Regions from separate parts of the Homo sapiens genome. Here region 1 is linked to region 2. The links are contacts of gene promoters, found by promoter capture Hi-C in human tissues and cell types (Jung and others, 2019). All regions are on one chromosome and are shown on one strand. The core of a region is centred on a gene start or on the middle of the fragment in contact, and the rest is flanking DNA. Distances in the headings are between cores, read along the strand shown. Region 1 overlaps CXXC4-AS1 (CXXC4 antisense RNA 1). Region 2 holds the start of CXXC4 (CXXC finger protein 4).

Region 1 (7,637 bases), core at 1,024-3,523, 120 kb after region 2:
GCTCCTATTTTTCTAGTTTTTTAAGATGTATTATTAGGTTATTTATTTGAAGCTTTTCTTCATTTTTGATGTAGGCACTTATAGCTATAAAGTTCCCTGTTAGTACTGTTTTGCTGTGACTCATAAGTTTTGGCATATTGTTTCTTCATTATCATTTGTTTCAGTAAATATTTCAATTTCCTTCTTAATTTCTTCATTGACCACTGGTCATTCAGGAGCATATTGCTTAATTTTCATGTGTTTGTATGGTTTCCAAAATTCCTCTTGTTCTTGATTTCTAGTTTTATTCTATTGTAGTCAGAGAAGATGCTTGATATTATTTCAGGGTTTTTAAAAAAATGTTTTAAGCTTGTTTTGTGACCTAAAATATGGTCTGTCCTTGAGAATAATACATGTGCTGAGAAAAAGAATTTGTATTCTGCAGCTGTTAGATGAAATCTTTGGTAAATATCTATTAGGTCAATTAGGTCTATCTACAGTGCAGATAAAGTACAATTTTTTAATTGATTTTCTGTCTAGAAGACCTCTCCAGTGCTGAAAATGGGGTGTTGAAATCTCCAGTTATCATTGTAATGTTATCTATTTCTCTCTTTGGCACTAATAATATTTGATTTATGTATCTGGGTGCTCCAGGGTTGGGTGCATATATATTTACAAGTGTTTCATCTCCTTGCTCAATTCACCCTTTATCGTTATATAATGACCTTTTTGTCTCTTCTTATAGTTTTTGTCTTGAAATCTATTTTTTCTCTTCTTTTTTGGTTTCCATTGGCATGGAATATCCTTTTCCATCCCTTTATTTTAAGTCCATGTGTGTCTTCATTGGTGAAGCATGTATCTTGTAGCCAACAGATCACTGAGTCTTGCTTTTTATTCAATCAGCCGCTCTATGTCTTTTTACTGAGAATTTTAGTTCATTTACATTCAATGTTATTATTGATTAATATGAACTTACTTCTGCCATTTTGCTATTTGTTTTCTGGCTTTGTGGCCTTCTCTTCCTTCTTCCCATCCTTCTCTTTGTCCTTTTTGTGAAGATGATTTTCTCTGGTGGTATGATTTAATTTCTTGGTTTTTCTTTTTTGTTTATTGGTCGTATGTTTTTGATTTGAGATTACAATGAGGCTTGCAAATATAACTCATTATTTTAAGCTCATAACAAATTTAAACTGCTTGCATAAACAAACTAACAAGCAAAAAGAAAACTAATAAAAATTCTACACTTCAACTTTGCCCCCTACTTTTTAACTTTTTGTTTGTATTTATCTTATCGTATTGTCTATGTCTTGAAAAGTTGGCATAGTTCTTATTTTTGAGTGGTTCATCTTTTAGTCTTTCTACTTAAGATATGAGTAGTTTATCTACCGCAGAGTATTATAATAGTCTGTGTTTTTCTGTGTACTTGCTATTTATTACCAGTGAGTTTTGTACCTTCAAATGATTTCTTTTTTTCTGATTGAAGTACTCCCTTTAGCATTTCTTGCAGGACACATCTAGTGTGAGTGAAATTCCTCAGCTTTTGTTTGTCTGGGAAATTCTTCATTTCTCCTTAATGTTTGAAGGATATTTTCACCAGATATATTATTCTAGGATAAAAGATTTTTTCTTTCAGCACTTTAAGTATGTCACACCCCTCTTTCCTGGCCTGTAAGGTTTCCATTGAATAGTCTGCTACCAGACACATTGGAGCTCCATTGTGTTATTTGTTTCTTTTTTCTTGCTGCTTTTATAATCCTTTAATGGTTTATCTTTGGGAGTTTGATTATTAAATGCCTTGTGGTGATCTTCTTTATGTTAAATCTGTTTGGTGTTCTGTAACATTCTTATATTTGAATTTTGAAATTTTCTCTAGGTTTGGGAAGTTCCGTGATATTATCTTTTCGAATAAACTTTATACCCCTATCCATTTCTCTACTTTCTTCTTTAAGGCCAATAACTCTTAGATTTGCCCTTTTGAGGCTATATTCCAGATCTTGTAAGTGTGCTTCATTGTTTTTTATTATTTTTCATTTTATCTCCTCTGAGTGTGTATTTTCAAATAGCCTGTCTTCAAACTCAGAAATTCTTTCTTCTGCTTGATCAGTTCTGCCACTAAGAGACTCCAATGCATTCTTTAGTATGTCACTTGCATATTTCAGCTCCAGAATTTTTGCTTGATTCTTTTTAATTATTTCAATCATCTCTTTATTAAATTTCTTTGATAGAATTCTGATTTCCTTGTCTGTATTATGTTGAATTTCTTTAAGTTTCCTCAAAACAGCTATTTTGGATTGTCTGTCTGAAAGATCACATATTTCTCTTTCTCCAGAATTGGTCCCTTGTGCCTTATTTAATTTGTTTGGTAGGTGACAGTTTCCTGAATGGTGTTGATGCTTATGATTGTTCATCAATGTCTGGGAATTGAAGAGTTAGGTATTTATTTTAGTCTGTGCCGTCTGGGCATGTTTCTACCTGTCCTCCTTGGGAAGGCCTTCCAGGTATTTTAAAGGACTTGGGTGTTGTGATGTAAGCTGTTTCTGCATTAGGGACACCCCAAGCCCAGTAACACTGTGATTCTTGCATACTTGTAGAAGTACTACATTGGCAGCCTTGGATAAAATCTGGAGGAATCTTGTGGATTACCAGAGAGAGAGACTCATTCTCACTTTTTCTCCCAAACCAATGAAGTCTCTCTCTGTGTGCTGAGCCATGCAGAGCTGGGGGAGGGGTGACATGAGCATCCTGTGGCCACCGCCACTGGGGCTGTGCTGGATCAGAACTGAAGCCAGCACAGCACTGGGTCTCACCAAAAGCCCACTGTAACCACTACCTGGCTATTGTTTATGGTCACGTAAGGCCCTAGGGCTTCACAATCAGCAGGTGGCAAAGCCAGCCAAGTTTTTGTCCTGCCCTTCAGGGTGGCAAGTTCCTCCAGACCCTGGGCAGGTCCAGAGATACTGTCCAGGAGCCATGGAGTGGAATCAAAATACTTAGAAATCTACCTGATATTCTATTCTACTGCAGCTGAGCTGGTGCTCAAGCCACATGACACAGATCTGGCCACTCTTCTCTTCCTTTTCCAGAGGCAGAGGAGCTTCTCCCCATGGCTACCATCACTACTGGCCCATAGGGAGTACTGCCACTCTTGTGGCAAACTTCTCTTTATTTTTCCCTCCTCTCTCCTTAAGCAGAGTAAAGTCAGTTTTGTTGCTGTGAACTGTGCTGCCTGAGGTTGGGGGAGGGGTGGTGCAAGCACTCCCTCAATCTCTATGGCTGGTGTCTCACTGTCACATTCCCCCCAAGTACATTGGCTCTGAGCCCAGCACAGCCTTTGGACTTGCCTAGGAATTGTAGTCGTGTGGCCTACACTGCATTTCAAGTTTGTGTGTACTCCAGCACACGTTAGCCCATGGTGGTGAGGCTTGCTGAAACTGAGGTTCCGACTGCTAGGATTTGCTAGGATTGGCAATTCCTCTCTGGCGAGGGCTGGTTTAAATGCTCCGTCTGTGGGCAGGGATTGGCTGAGTTCGGCCAGTTTTGCTTTCTACTCTGACAGGGCAGCACTGAGTTGAATGCAAGGTCTCACAATCACTGCACTCTCTCTCCCCATAAGCACACAGATCCTCTCTCTGTGCCATGCAGTTGCTGCCAGGGGATGGGTGTTAGGAGGTGTTAGATGTTTAAGACTATTTTTTCTACCATCTTCAGTGCAGCAACATGAAGTTAAAGCCAGATACTGTGAGTGCTCACCTGATTTTTGGTTCTAATGAAAGTGCTTTTCCTGTGTAGATAGTTGTTAAATTTGTTGTTCCTGTGCTGGGTGGTGTGGGGGGTGATAGGTGGAAGCTTCTATTTGGCCATCCTGCTTTGTCTCACTCCCACAAATGGCATTTAGTATGGTGACTCTTTTCCATAAGGTTTTCAATTTACTTTGCCCACATTCATCACAAGAATCATTATGGCAACTATAGCCTTATAAAATGTATTTCTTAAATAACAGAACATGAAAGTCTAAATTATTCCTTGATCCATGGGCTACAAAATGGATATTGTCAATCACTAGTAAATATTGTGAATCTTTCTTTTTTTTTTTTTTTCTGAGCAGTAGGCCTCAATCGTGAGCTTAAATATTTAGCAAACTCTGCTGTAATCAGATGTGCCATCATTCAGGCTTTGTTGTTCTATTTATAGAGCACAAGAAGAGTAGAATTAGCATAATGTTTAAGGGCCCTAAAATTTTCAGAATGATAAACAAACACTGGCTTCAACTTGAAGTCACCAGCTGCATGAACTCCTAACTAGAGAGTCAGCCTGTCCTTAAAGCTCTGAAGCCAGGCACTGACTTTCCTCTCTAGCTATGAACGTCCTAGATTGGTCTTTTCCTCCAATAAAACACTGTTTTGTCTACATAAAAAAAAAAATCTATTGTTTAGCATATCCACCTTCATCAATTATCTTAGCTAGATCTTCTGGATAATTTGCTGCAGCTTCTACGTCAGCACTTGCTGCTCCACTTTGTACTTTCACGTTATGAGGATGGCTTCTTTCCTTAACCTTCATGAACCAACATTTTTTAGCCTCAAACTTTTCTTCTTCAGCTTCCTCACCTCTCTCTGCCTTCACAGAATTGAAGAGAGTTAGGGCCTTGCTCTGGATTAGGCTTTTGTTTAAGGGAATGTTTTGGATGGTTTGATTGTCCATCCAGATCACTCACACTTTCTTCATATCAGCAATAAGGTCGTTTCACTTTCTTACCATTTGTGTGTTTCCTGGAGTAGCACTTTTAATTTCTTTCAAGAACTTTTACTTTGAATTCACAATTTGGCTGTTTGGTACAAGAGGCCTAGCTTTCAGCCTATCTTGACTTTTCACAAGCCTTCTTCACTAAGCTTAATCATTTATAACTTTTAATTTAAGAAGGAATAGATGTGTGACTCTTCCTTTCACTCGACCACTTAGAAACCACTGTAGGTTTATTAATAGGCCTAACTTCAATATTGTTGTTTCTTAGTAAATGGGAAGGCCCAAGTAGGGGAGAGATGTGGAGGAAAGGCTACTTGGTGAAGAGGCAGAACACAGAAAACATCTGTCAACTAAATTTGCCATCTTATGTGAACACAGTCCATGCTGCTCCAAAATAATTATAATAGTCACATCAAATATCAGTGATCACAGATCACCATATCAGATATAACAATAATGAAAAGTTTGAAATGTTACAACAATTACCAAAATGTGACAGAGATATGAGGTGAGTACATGCCATTGAAAACAAAAAAGATACCAATAGACTTGCTTAATGCAGAGTTGCCACAAACCTTCAATTTGTAGTAAATGCAGTATCTGTGAAGTATAATAAGGTGAAGCACAATAAGATGAGGCATGCCTCTATATCATCTAATTTAGTCATCTCCAGAACAAAATGAGTTTGTTGTCTTCACTAACAGATGAAGATACTGAGCTTTGAAGCTGTTCCATATGTTGACCAACCCTGCAGTGCTGGCTGTGCTAGAACCAGGGATGGAACCAAGGCCCATCTGACTCTAATATCCCTGCTGTTAGTGACTTTCTCCCTGCTCACTGACATTCTGGCGTCTTCCCTGAAAACTATGTCCTAGCCTTTCTGCTCTTGTTTCTGGGCCACCATTAGCTGCTCTATTTCTTCGTGTATAATTTTAATGTGTTCAAAGCATTTACACTGTCCACATGCTTATACCCACAGAGTAAGTAAACATCTAGTCTTAGAGCTATTATTTAGGTTTTTGCACAAATTTCTCCCAATGGAAAACAGTGCAGCACACCTCCCTATAATGCTGGAAAGGCAGCTAGGCTCTAGATTCTCATAGTCAGATATCCGTTATATGCAGCATAATCCACACATGATGCAGATGCAACATTTAGGAGGCTTCTGGTGTCAAAGTGGAACCTCAGGAATCCCTCAGGGAAGGCTTCAGGGAACTCTAAAATGTTTAGTGAAAGAAGACAGAACGTTTAGCAGTAGCACACAACTTTGTAAATACTAGTTACAATTATGGTTGTTTAATCCTGTCAAACGGCAAAGGCTCCAGAGTGTACAGCAAAGGCTACTCATAAGGCATCATCTCCTTCCACCCAGTGTTCAAGTCTCCACTATCATACCCATGAAATATGGGTTTTCACCTTATTTGAACGTTTGCAGGAGTAAAGAACTCAGTTTGGTCTCATGTTGATATAATAGTTTTTTGTTGCTGTTGCCCTAGGTTTTTCAGGACTAGATATCTCAATTTATCCTCTCACTAGGGAGCTTCAAAAAAGAAAACCACATACTTGTATTATGGGGACTATTTTTTCATATCCAGGTTTCTGAAAGCTGAATAAATAATCAGAAGGATGACTTCTAAACTTAGAATAATAGAAAATAAAATTACATATTATTATAAAATTTTTCCCTTGAGTCATGGAAAAAGCCTCATGAATTATCCCTGTCCAATTATAGAGAGAACATTTCTAATAATTGGAATGTACGGAGTCTTTCTCTTCTTCTCTGTAAAAATGCTGAATAAATTCAATCCAATTTCTCAAATAACCAGTATTTATCAGCCACCAAAACCATTACCTCATGCCAGACAAAATTTTACCAAGGTGACAAAGAATGTGCTAGTGAGGAGGGGTATTAACACATTGGAAACTCAGTAGTGGTTGTCTTTTGCAGGCTGGGACTAATAGAAGGAGATACTGTTATAAAACTGGGCTATCTACTAGTACTAGGAATGATAGGACCTAAATTATCAGAGACTAGGCAGCAGTGCTTAGCTTCAGAAGTAAAGCAAATGGAATTACTTTAAATAGCTGCAAGTTCAAAAGCGTAGAACTGGGGGTGGGAGCAGGGTGGTGGTGTATGGAGTTGATCCTTAAGAATCTACTGAGGTGGGTCTAAAACATGATTTTTCTAGAACAAGATGGACCGACCATCAACAAGAGTACTGTTTAATATATATTCAAAAGAGATCGAGAATGAATGAGCAGAAGACTCCCATCAGCTGTTCCAATGGAAAATCACGACCTCTCAGTTTCCAGACTTATACTAGCTCTAAGACCTTGAACATATCAACTAAAGGAGAAACAAGATCTTCATGAGGAAGGATCCTGAAACACCACATGTATTAGTCTGTTTTCACACTGCTGATAAAGACATACCAGGGCTGGGAAGAAAAAGAGGTTTTAATGGATTCAGAGTTCCACATGGCTGGGGAGGCCTCACAATCATGGCAGAAGGTGAAAGGCATGTCTCACATGGTTGCAGACAAGAGAAGAGGGCTTGTGCAGGGAAACTCCCATTTTTAAAACCATCAGATCTCGTGAGACTTATTCACCATCATGAGAGCAGCATAGGAAAGACCTGCCCCCATGATTCAATTACCTCCCACTAGGTCCCTCCGACAACACATGGGAAATCAAAATGAGAGTTGAGTGGGGACACAGCCAAACCATATCATTCCACAACTGGCTCCTCCCAAATCTCATGTCCTCACATTTCAAAACCAATCATGCCTTCCCAACAGTCCCCCAAAGTCTTGGCTCATTTCAGCATTAACTCAGAAGTCCACAGTCCGAAGTCTCATCTGAGACAAGGCAAGTCCCTTTCACTTATGAGCCTGTAAAATCACAAGCAAGTTAGT
Region 2 (7,632 bases), core at 3,539-6,038:
AGAAATCCGCTTCCTACACAGTTTCAGCTTTCTCCAAAAATATCAGATACGCAGAAAATAAAATAGAAAACATTCTGCCTTGATGAGTAGAAAAATGATTCTAGAAAAGGGTAGGAAATCCCCTTCTGAATCCAGGTGTTTCAACTTCATTGAATACTGCTGTGTGGTTTGTTACCGGTTTTTTAATGAGAACAGGCTTGTGTACCACAAACTGTGTCCTCACTGTTATAAATGGGCCACTAACTTAGCCAGTAAACTTGTATAGGATGTGATGTGTCCAGTCCTTTGGGCAAGATGCCCCACCCTTTTTAATGAGGAGGAGGGGGCATTTTAAACCACCAAGGGAAAATATTGAGCATATTGAATGTGAAACTTCTGATTCTTCAATTACATTATTTTTCCCCCAGGGATAAAAAGGAGGGCACTCTCTCTATCAGAAGGGCGGTGTCACGTGAAGTGCAGCTGGTGCGGGTGGTGGAGAGGCCAAGCCTTTCGCAAACCACCTACAACTCTTACCACCTGAATGAAGCTTCTGAGAAGGGGTACTGCATCTTGAAGCCAGACAAGAATCCCTGAAGGGGAGAGGGAGTGAGGAGGGAAGGGGGGAGACTGGGAAACAAGAAATCATCTCCTCTGACCTCTAGTGAAGTGCCAGGTTTTTTCTTTAGCTCTTCACATTTTCTAAATTTGCAGATCTGGTGTCCCGTTTTGCGGTTCCTGCAACTGCTGCAGACGCCACAGTTGATGAGCCTCTTGCAGGGCACGCAGACCCCACACCTTTTCCTCTTCTTCTTGGCTGGGTTGGCTCCGCCAGCTCCCCCTGAGGAGGACGAGGAGGAGGAGGAATGATTCTGCGGGCAGTCTGCCAGATTGGCAATTTGAAACGCACTGTCTGTGACGGCTGCTGAGGCTGCTGCGGGGGAGTGAAGGGCTGTCATGACGATGACCCCTGGAGGTAATGAGATGCCCCCTAAAGCCGGGATAGCGGAAAAAGTCCCCACGCGCTCGGGGAGATTCATTATCTCTGCTTCAGCAGCGCCGCATTTGAGCTTGTTCATGCATTCCCCCGCCAAAGGTCTGCAGTGTTCAGGGGATAAGGTGGAGAGGAAATTAGTATTTGCCATTTGCAACGACGGCTCTGGCGGGCAGCCAGCTTTCCCCAGCCTCTGGGAGTCGTTTCGGTGGTGCATGCTGGTCCTGCTGCCGCCGCCGCCGCCGCCGCCGCCACCGCCGGCGGGGAGGATCGCCGAGGAGGAGGAGGCGGAGGAGGAGGCGGCGGCGGAGGAGGATTTCCTGCCGCCCCCACCACCCCCGCCCCCGCCTCCGCCGCCGCCGCCGCCGCCGCCACCCCCCCCGCCGCCGCCCCCGCCCCCGCCGCTGCCCCAGAGCATGGCGGTGGCGGCGGCGGCGGTGGCCGCGTTGTCGCAGTTCCAGGGGGACATGCCGATGCGCGCGGCGGCCGCGGCGGCGGCGGCGCTGCTGGGGAAGATGGGGGTGGTGATGCGCGCGATCTTGGCCGCCTGTGGGAAGGCGCCCCCGTTGGTCTTGTAGAAGGAGGTGGCAAAGGAGCGGTAGCGCTCCATTTCCGAGTTGTAATCCACAAGGCTGTTCAGAGCCCCCTCGGGCAAGTGGCTTTCCTTGGGCAAGCCCGGGGCCTCCGGGCTCGGCCCGGGCTCCACGCAGACATTGGTGTTCATGGTGCAGGGGGGGAAGAAGGGGTGCAGGGTGGAAGTGGGGACCGCCTGGTCCGACACCTGGGTGGAAAAGGGGGAAAGGTGGGGGGGAGGGAAGGGAGTGATGGTGGTGTTGGGGTGGGGGCCGAGGCGGGTGGGGAAAGTGGGTTCGGGTGGGGAGAGCAAGGTGAGGGCTGCTTTATTCCTCTCTGGGGCTCATTTCCACAGACGGTGAATTCCCAGGCAGCGTCTTCCTTTGCATTATCCTCCAACTGTTACAACTAAAATAAAGAAAGTCATTCCAACGAGCTGCACGAGGAAAAAGATTAAAAATAAACAACCTCCCTCACTAACCCACCGCAGACACCGAAAGCTCCCACATTCTTCCATCAGGTCGTTTGCATAAGAATCATCAAGACGTGACCCCCCCCAGCCCATCCCCCCCAACTCTCCCAACCCCCGCTCCCTCCCTCCCCACAGCAAACCACAGCTCCTCCCCCCTATTCTTATAACCCTCCTGAGAAAATGTATTAATAGCCAGGATACCCAGGGAAAGAAGGAAGACGGGGGTGACAAACGCCTAAGGAAAAGGGCAATTGGAGTGCTAAAGACATGCAAATCATGGGTGGGAGGGCGATACTACCTATAAGCAGAGGGCATTTAAACATTATGAAATGTGTGAACAAGTGCTGCCTGGGCATGCAAATGCTGTAAAGTAGAAAACAGCAATGGCCCTATGAGGAAAATGAACAGGAAATTAGCAAATGAAGTACTGAAAAAGTCTACAATACATCCGAGTATAAACTGTAAGCAAACACAATACAACTGAGAGCTAAGAGACTGCCCACATACAATCTGAACTAAAGAGGCAGGGAAAAAAGAACTACCAGCTGCCACAGTATCCTTCTGTGTCTGCGGTCATTAGTTTGAATCCCAGCACAGCTGGCTCTGTTAGGGTCTTAATTCAATGGACCAAGGACAGGTCTCAATTGTACAAGCCATTTGGTGGTGGGTCTTGGTGGGGGTAAGAGGGTGGTGTTCTACTTGATTTTTTTTAAGGTAGAAAATAAAGATAAGCCAGATAATTACATATATACATATTTATTTATATCAGCAATGTCTCAGGTTTTAAACCAAGTGCCTGCAGCCTCTATAAGAATATTCCTAATCATTCCTAATGGAGATTGCTGTCTCTTCCGAAGACAAGAGGAAAGCATGGGACTTTTTGAAAAGGATATCTCACAATCACTGATTTTTACATTGAGTAAAAGGGGGGGGGGCTTTAACGTGTTCTTTGCCAGAGAAAAATAACAAAATTATTTTTTAATTTTGCTCTTTTTAAGAGGAAAGTTTAATGTTAACTGGGTATTTGCATTAATCTCCTTGCTTACAGGCCATTATTATGCTTTAGGAAGAGGTATTTTAGTTGTTTATTACAGAGGGAGAAGTACATCACAGCCTTTTAAGAAGCAAAGCAAAGGCATAAAGTGTATATTCACTTAAAAAACCAGTTTCTTTGTTTCCAGATTTTTTGGCCAGAATATCTTTTTGTGACATCTTTTGAAGCCCATAGATTGGTCTAGAATGCAGAGTTCAGGGAATTCTACATGGGGGCCCAATAGTCTCCGTCTCAAATATTCAGAGTTCAAAATGGTTATCAATTATAGTAATTATGCTTATAATTAGGTTAATGAACCAGTTATGCCCAAACTCCAAGTGCAAAAACTTCAAGACCTACTGATGAGGTGCTCTAAAAAGAGGGGTTTATGTAAACAAATCCCTATTAGGCAAAGTAAATCAAGATAAGGAACCTCACCCCAGGCTGGATTAGAAGCTTGCAGGCATCTTTCAATCACAGCAAGTCCCTAATCACTCAGGAACCACCTCTGTGGTTTCGCATTAGGGAAAACTGCTGCCTTCTCAGGTCTGAGGGCAATACAAAAGGTGCCCCCAAAATGCTCTTGGCTAAATATTCTTGATGCTTGGAAGGGGTGAGGGAAGACACAGCAAGAATATGCATATAGCTTCAGTTTCTGCGAATCACATTGTAACTGCAAGACCATAATAACTGCTACTCAGTAAAAACTAGTTATGTCAACCATGCATTAGATATCATCACATTGAGTGGAGGGAAAATTTTCAACCTTTTAGTCTTTTGACCTTGTTCCAAATAAATAAATAATTTAACGTCCCTTTTTTAGAGTCTTAGAGTGGTGTTTCCAAACACAAGCTTTCCTTGCTTTTCTGATTGCCATCACCATCCCTCTTCCTACCTCAAGGTTTAATACCACCAGAAACTGTAGAAAATGATTATGCCCAGTATCCAGGTCATTATTGTTTAATCAATGCATCTCTGGAGCATGAAAAAGGTATCTAAGCCACAGCTATTGTTTGGATTTTATTTAAAAACAAAATAAAACACACACAAATAACTATAGTTCTATGCCAAAGCTAAATTAGAGATCCATACTTCATGATCCTGTTTTGCCTTTAAACAATGTGACTTTACATGCCTAATACTGTATGTCTGGTCTACCAGAGACATAGAGATCAAAGGTCATATTTAACATTCAGGAGGAGGGGCGGGTGCAGACTAATTAATAAATTAATACAGCGACGCTTTTTCTTGCTGGAGTCCAGCATTAATAATCTACTTTCACAATCCCAACGGACAGCAAACATTTAAGAGAAAAAAAAGCCAGAGAAAGAGAAAGAACAATCACTTACCAGTCTCTTTTTATTTGGGGAGCCTTAGAATTTGCAGACGCTGCCAGTCTGCCTTTAATTAGTTGCACATCACCCCCTAACACAAAGAAACACAAATCCAGATGTGTCTTGGCAGCTCCCAATTACAACTTTAATACTTGTAAACAAACTGTTGGGGGGGGGGGGGTAAATAAATATGCGGATCAAAAAAAATACCTGTAAATGGCTTTTTTTTCTTGTTGCAGAGAGAAGGAGGAGGAGATGGTGTTAGTGGTGGGGGTGGAAGGAGGAGGAGGTGGGGGGAGAGGAAAGAGTCGAGTGTGAGTGTATGTGTGAGAGCGCGGGTCTGTTGTCGGTGGTCTCTCCTCTCCCAGCGCGTTGCTCTCCGTCCGTCTCCAGTCGCTGTGTGCGAGGGAGGGAGGGAGCCGGGGAGTCTCTCCTCTCTCTCTCCCCTCTCTCTCTCTCTCTCTCTTCCCCTCTCTCTCACCCTCCCCCCTTCTCTCTCTGTTTGTGTGTGTGCGAGTGTGCGGTTGCTGGGGGAGGGGAGCCACAGAGAAAGGCGAGGGAGGAGGTGTGGAGGCTGGGGGCGGGGGCGCGGGGGTGGGGGTGATTGGCGCCGAGGTGAGGAGGACGCAGGGACGTGGACACCTACTGATGATTGGCTGCAAATTACACGGGGAACAAGAGGCGCACGCGGGCCAGCGCTCCTTTTCACAAATCCTCTCCTCGGCAGAGGAGCCACGTTTTCCCTGCTCGCCTGCGGATCGCCCTCCCTCCTCGCGCCCGGCTCTCCGGCTCAGCCCAGCACACAGGGCTGTTGATTATTTTCTTTTGCTCTCGGAGATAATTGTTTGGAAGGGTTGGAAAGAGGGCGTTTCCGCCACTCTGCGTGTGGGGTGTGTGTGTGCGTGCGTGTGCGGGTGTGTGTGTAAATAAACTTGTCTGGGATTTCTGGCTGGGTTGAGAAGAGCAATACAAGAAACAGAGAAAAGGTCATGTTTGTTTGAAGAATGCTCTTAGTTCGTACCCAATGGCATGGTTTTAAATAAATTTCCTGGTGTACCCAGGAAGACTTTAAAAAAAAATACCATTTAGATCTTTAAAGTAAGGGAAAACGGACCGGTGTGGTTCTTCAGACCCTCGAAGTACTATTATGCCAGAATGTAAAAAATCGGTGATATGATGCTTGGCCAATTTCAAAATCCATCTCAATCTCTGTCTCTCTTCTCTACTCTTCTCTCTCTCCTCCCAAAATCCTCTTTTACTATTCCATCTGGTAGTTCCAAAGAATAAATCAGATTTTTAACTCACTGCCCTATTTTTTAATTTCAAACTTTACTTAAACAAAAACTTTTGTCTTTCAGTCTATTTTAGAATAGTATGTAATTAACATTTCACTTCTTGCCACTTGGGAAAACATAGTTTATGAATTGAAACATAAATATTGTACGGCACGTCAAATATAAATAAAACTCGTTCATAAATGCAGCTGTAAATTAACCTCTTCACTGCTGCCTCAAATAAAATATTTGTGGACACATGCTATCCTACTATTAAAGTATACTCTAGTGGAAATAGTTATAAGATACAGAATTATGAATACTTTTGAATAATTTTTTTTCTAAGAGCAAAACAGTGGCTAAGGTAAGTTATAGAGTAGGAAAGAAAAAACTTAAGATTATTTAAATTGGTGTTATCAAGCAGAGTACAAGTTTTGTATTAAAATTAAGTGTTTATTCTAGAGTAATGCAATATTAATTGTTCAGATAAGTGAGGAAAATATAATGTTTTGTTTCTTTAATAAGAAAAAAAAGCTGAAAAGACATTTTAAACCATTTTGTATTTGAATTTTCAAAAGATAGACTTTGACCATATCAAGACATTACCAACTATGGAGGATAAATTGTTGATAACAAGTTTGAAACTGTGGTGTGTGTATGCCTAAATGAAGGTGTTATTTCAAGAGTGGGCTACTATTGCAATAGGAAACAGGTGTATTTTGTGACTCATTGATTAATATACATGTTTTGTAATTTTTTTAAAGCATAAGCTGTTTGATTATTACCGGTTATTTGACATCTATAGACAAAATAACTGGAGGGTTAATAATTATTCAAGTTAATAAGATATTTTTATTCTTGTGCTAATGCATTATAAAAGCAAAAAAGGAAATTTTCCATTTGATTATTTTGTTTTAGCTCAGCTTCATAGGAAATTTATCAGGAAAATGTGGTCACTTTTTAATGAGTGAAAACATGCTAGAAAAATGATAGATTCTTAAACATCTTTTCACAATATTTAAAATATCAGTCCAATGTTAGAAATTTTGAAGTTTATAAATAAGCAATGTTTTTAATCAAATAAAGACATCATGCTTTCTTTTGCCAAATTTTCTTTTCTGGAAATTTTCCTTTTTGGAAATTCCTTTTCTCATGCTTTCCTTTTTGGGACTCTTCAAGCTTACTTTCAAAATGAAATCTTAAACACGTGAGAGAAAATATGTTCTAAATTCCAATGAATTTTACTTTCCAGCTAATGAAGGAAAACTACAGAATTCTTGGTCTTAATAATTAATAATAATAGCCCCTATTAATGACCCATTAGTGTCAGATCCTGCACTAAGTAATTTGCAGATATTCTATTTTGTCCTTGCAATAATCCTGTGAAGTGGCTATTATTTCCATTTTACAAACAAGGAAATTGAGGCCCAGAGAAATGAGGTAACCTAGATTAGGTCACAAAGTTAGTATGTAAAAAGTTTGAAATTTGTACCCAATCTGGTCTATTCCAAAGCCTTATGTTTATAACCTCTACCCTAGTCTCACTGTCAATAATTAATCAATCAATAAACCTTCTCTGGATACTGGAACCTCAGATTTAATTATGATTGTAGGCCCCTAGTTGATATGGGATCAATTAAATTTATAAAAGAAATTATAAACAATATACCTCATGGCTCTGATATAGCATTCTGTTTCCTTTCCACTAGGGAATTGATTGCATACTTAGCCAAATATGATCAAGGGAAATCTTTTTTCTCATCTATCTCATATCCATTAATTTTTTATACTAGTGTAGATACATATATGCACCATGTCTCACATTAGTCTATGTTTGTCTTCTTTAAAATGATATATCAGGGTTTTGATAATAATACCTGAGAACACTCAGTTCTCTGTTAACTCTCTTTAAGTCCACAGTTTTATATGATATACGAAAAAGTGAGATTGTTTTCTCTGCAAAATGCCCATTA

The links. Contacts are between HindIII fragments. The study calls those that stand out against the background at their distance.
Region 1: a contact is called between a fragment that was not itself captured here and the fragment with the promoter of CXXC4 in region 2, in 2 of the 25 tissues and cell types used here (heart left ventricle and heart right ventricle).

The regions. Positions count from the first base shown.
Region 1 is chr4:104,613,219-104,620,855 of GRCh38, forward strand. The region is part of intron 1 of CXXC4-AS1 (CXXC4 antisense RNA 1); the gene reads left to right. All of the region lies in intron 1 of LOC124900745 (a long non-coding RNA gene), which reads right to left. Among named protein-coding and RNA genes, the nearest start is that of CXXC4, 120 kb to the left of the region's middle. The HindIII fragment of the contact is 4,146 bases long and covers 201-4,346 here.
Region 2 is chr4:104,490,106-104,497,737 of GRCh38, forward strand. CXXC4 (CXXC finger protein 4) reads right to left here and starts at 4,789. Exons shown (of 3, transcript NM_025212.4): 1 at 4,596-4,789; 2 at 639-1,954. The coding sequence starts at 1,697. It overlaps CXXC4-AS1 (CXXC4 antisense RNA 1), which reads left to right and starts at 860. Exons shown (of 10, transcript NR_125926.1): 1 at 860-955. RefSeq lists an enhancer at 2,227-2,276. The HindIII fragment of the contact is 3,942 bases long and covers 3,706-7,632 here.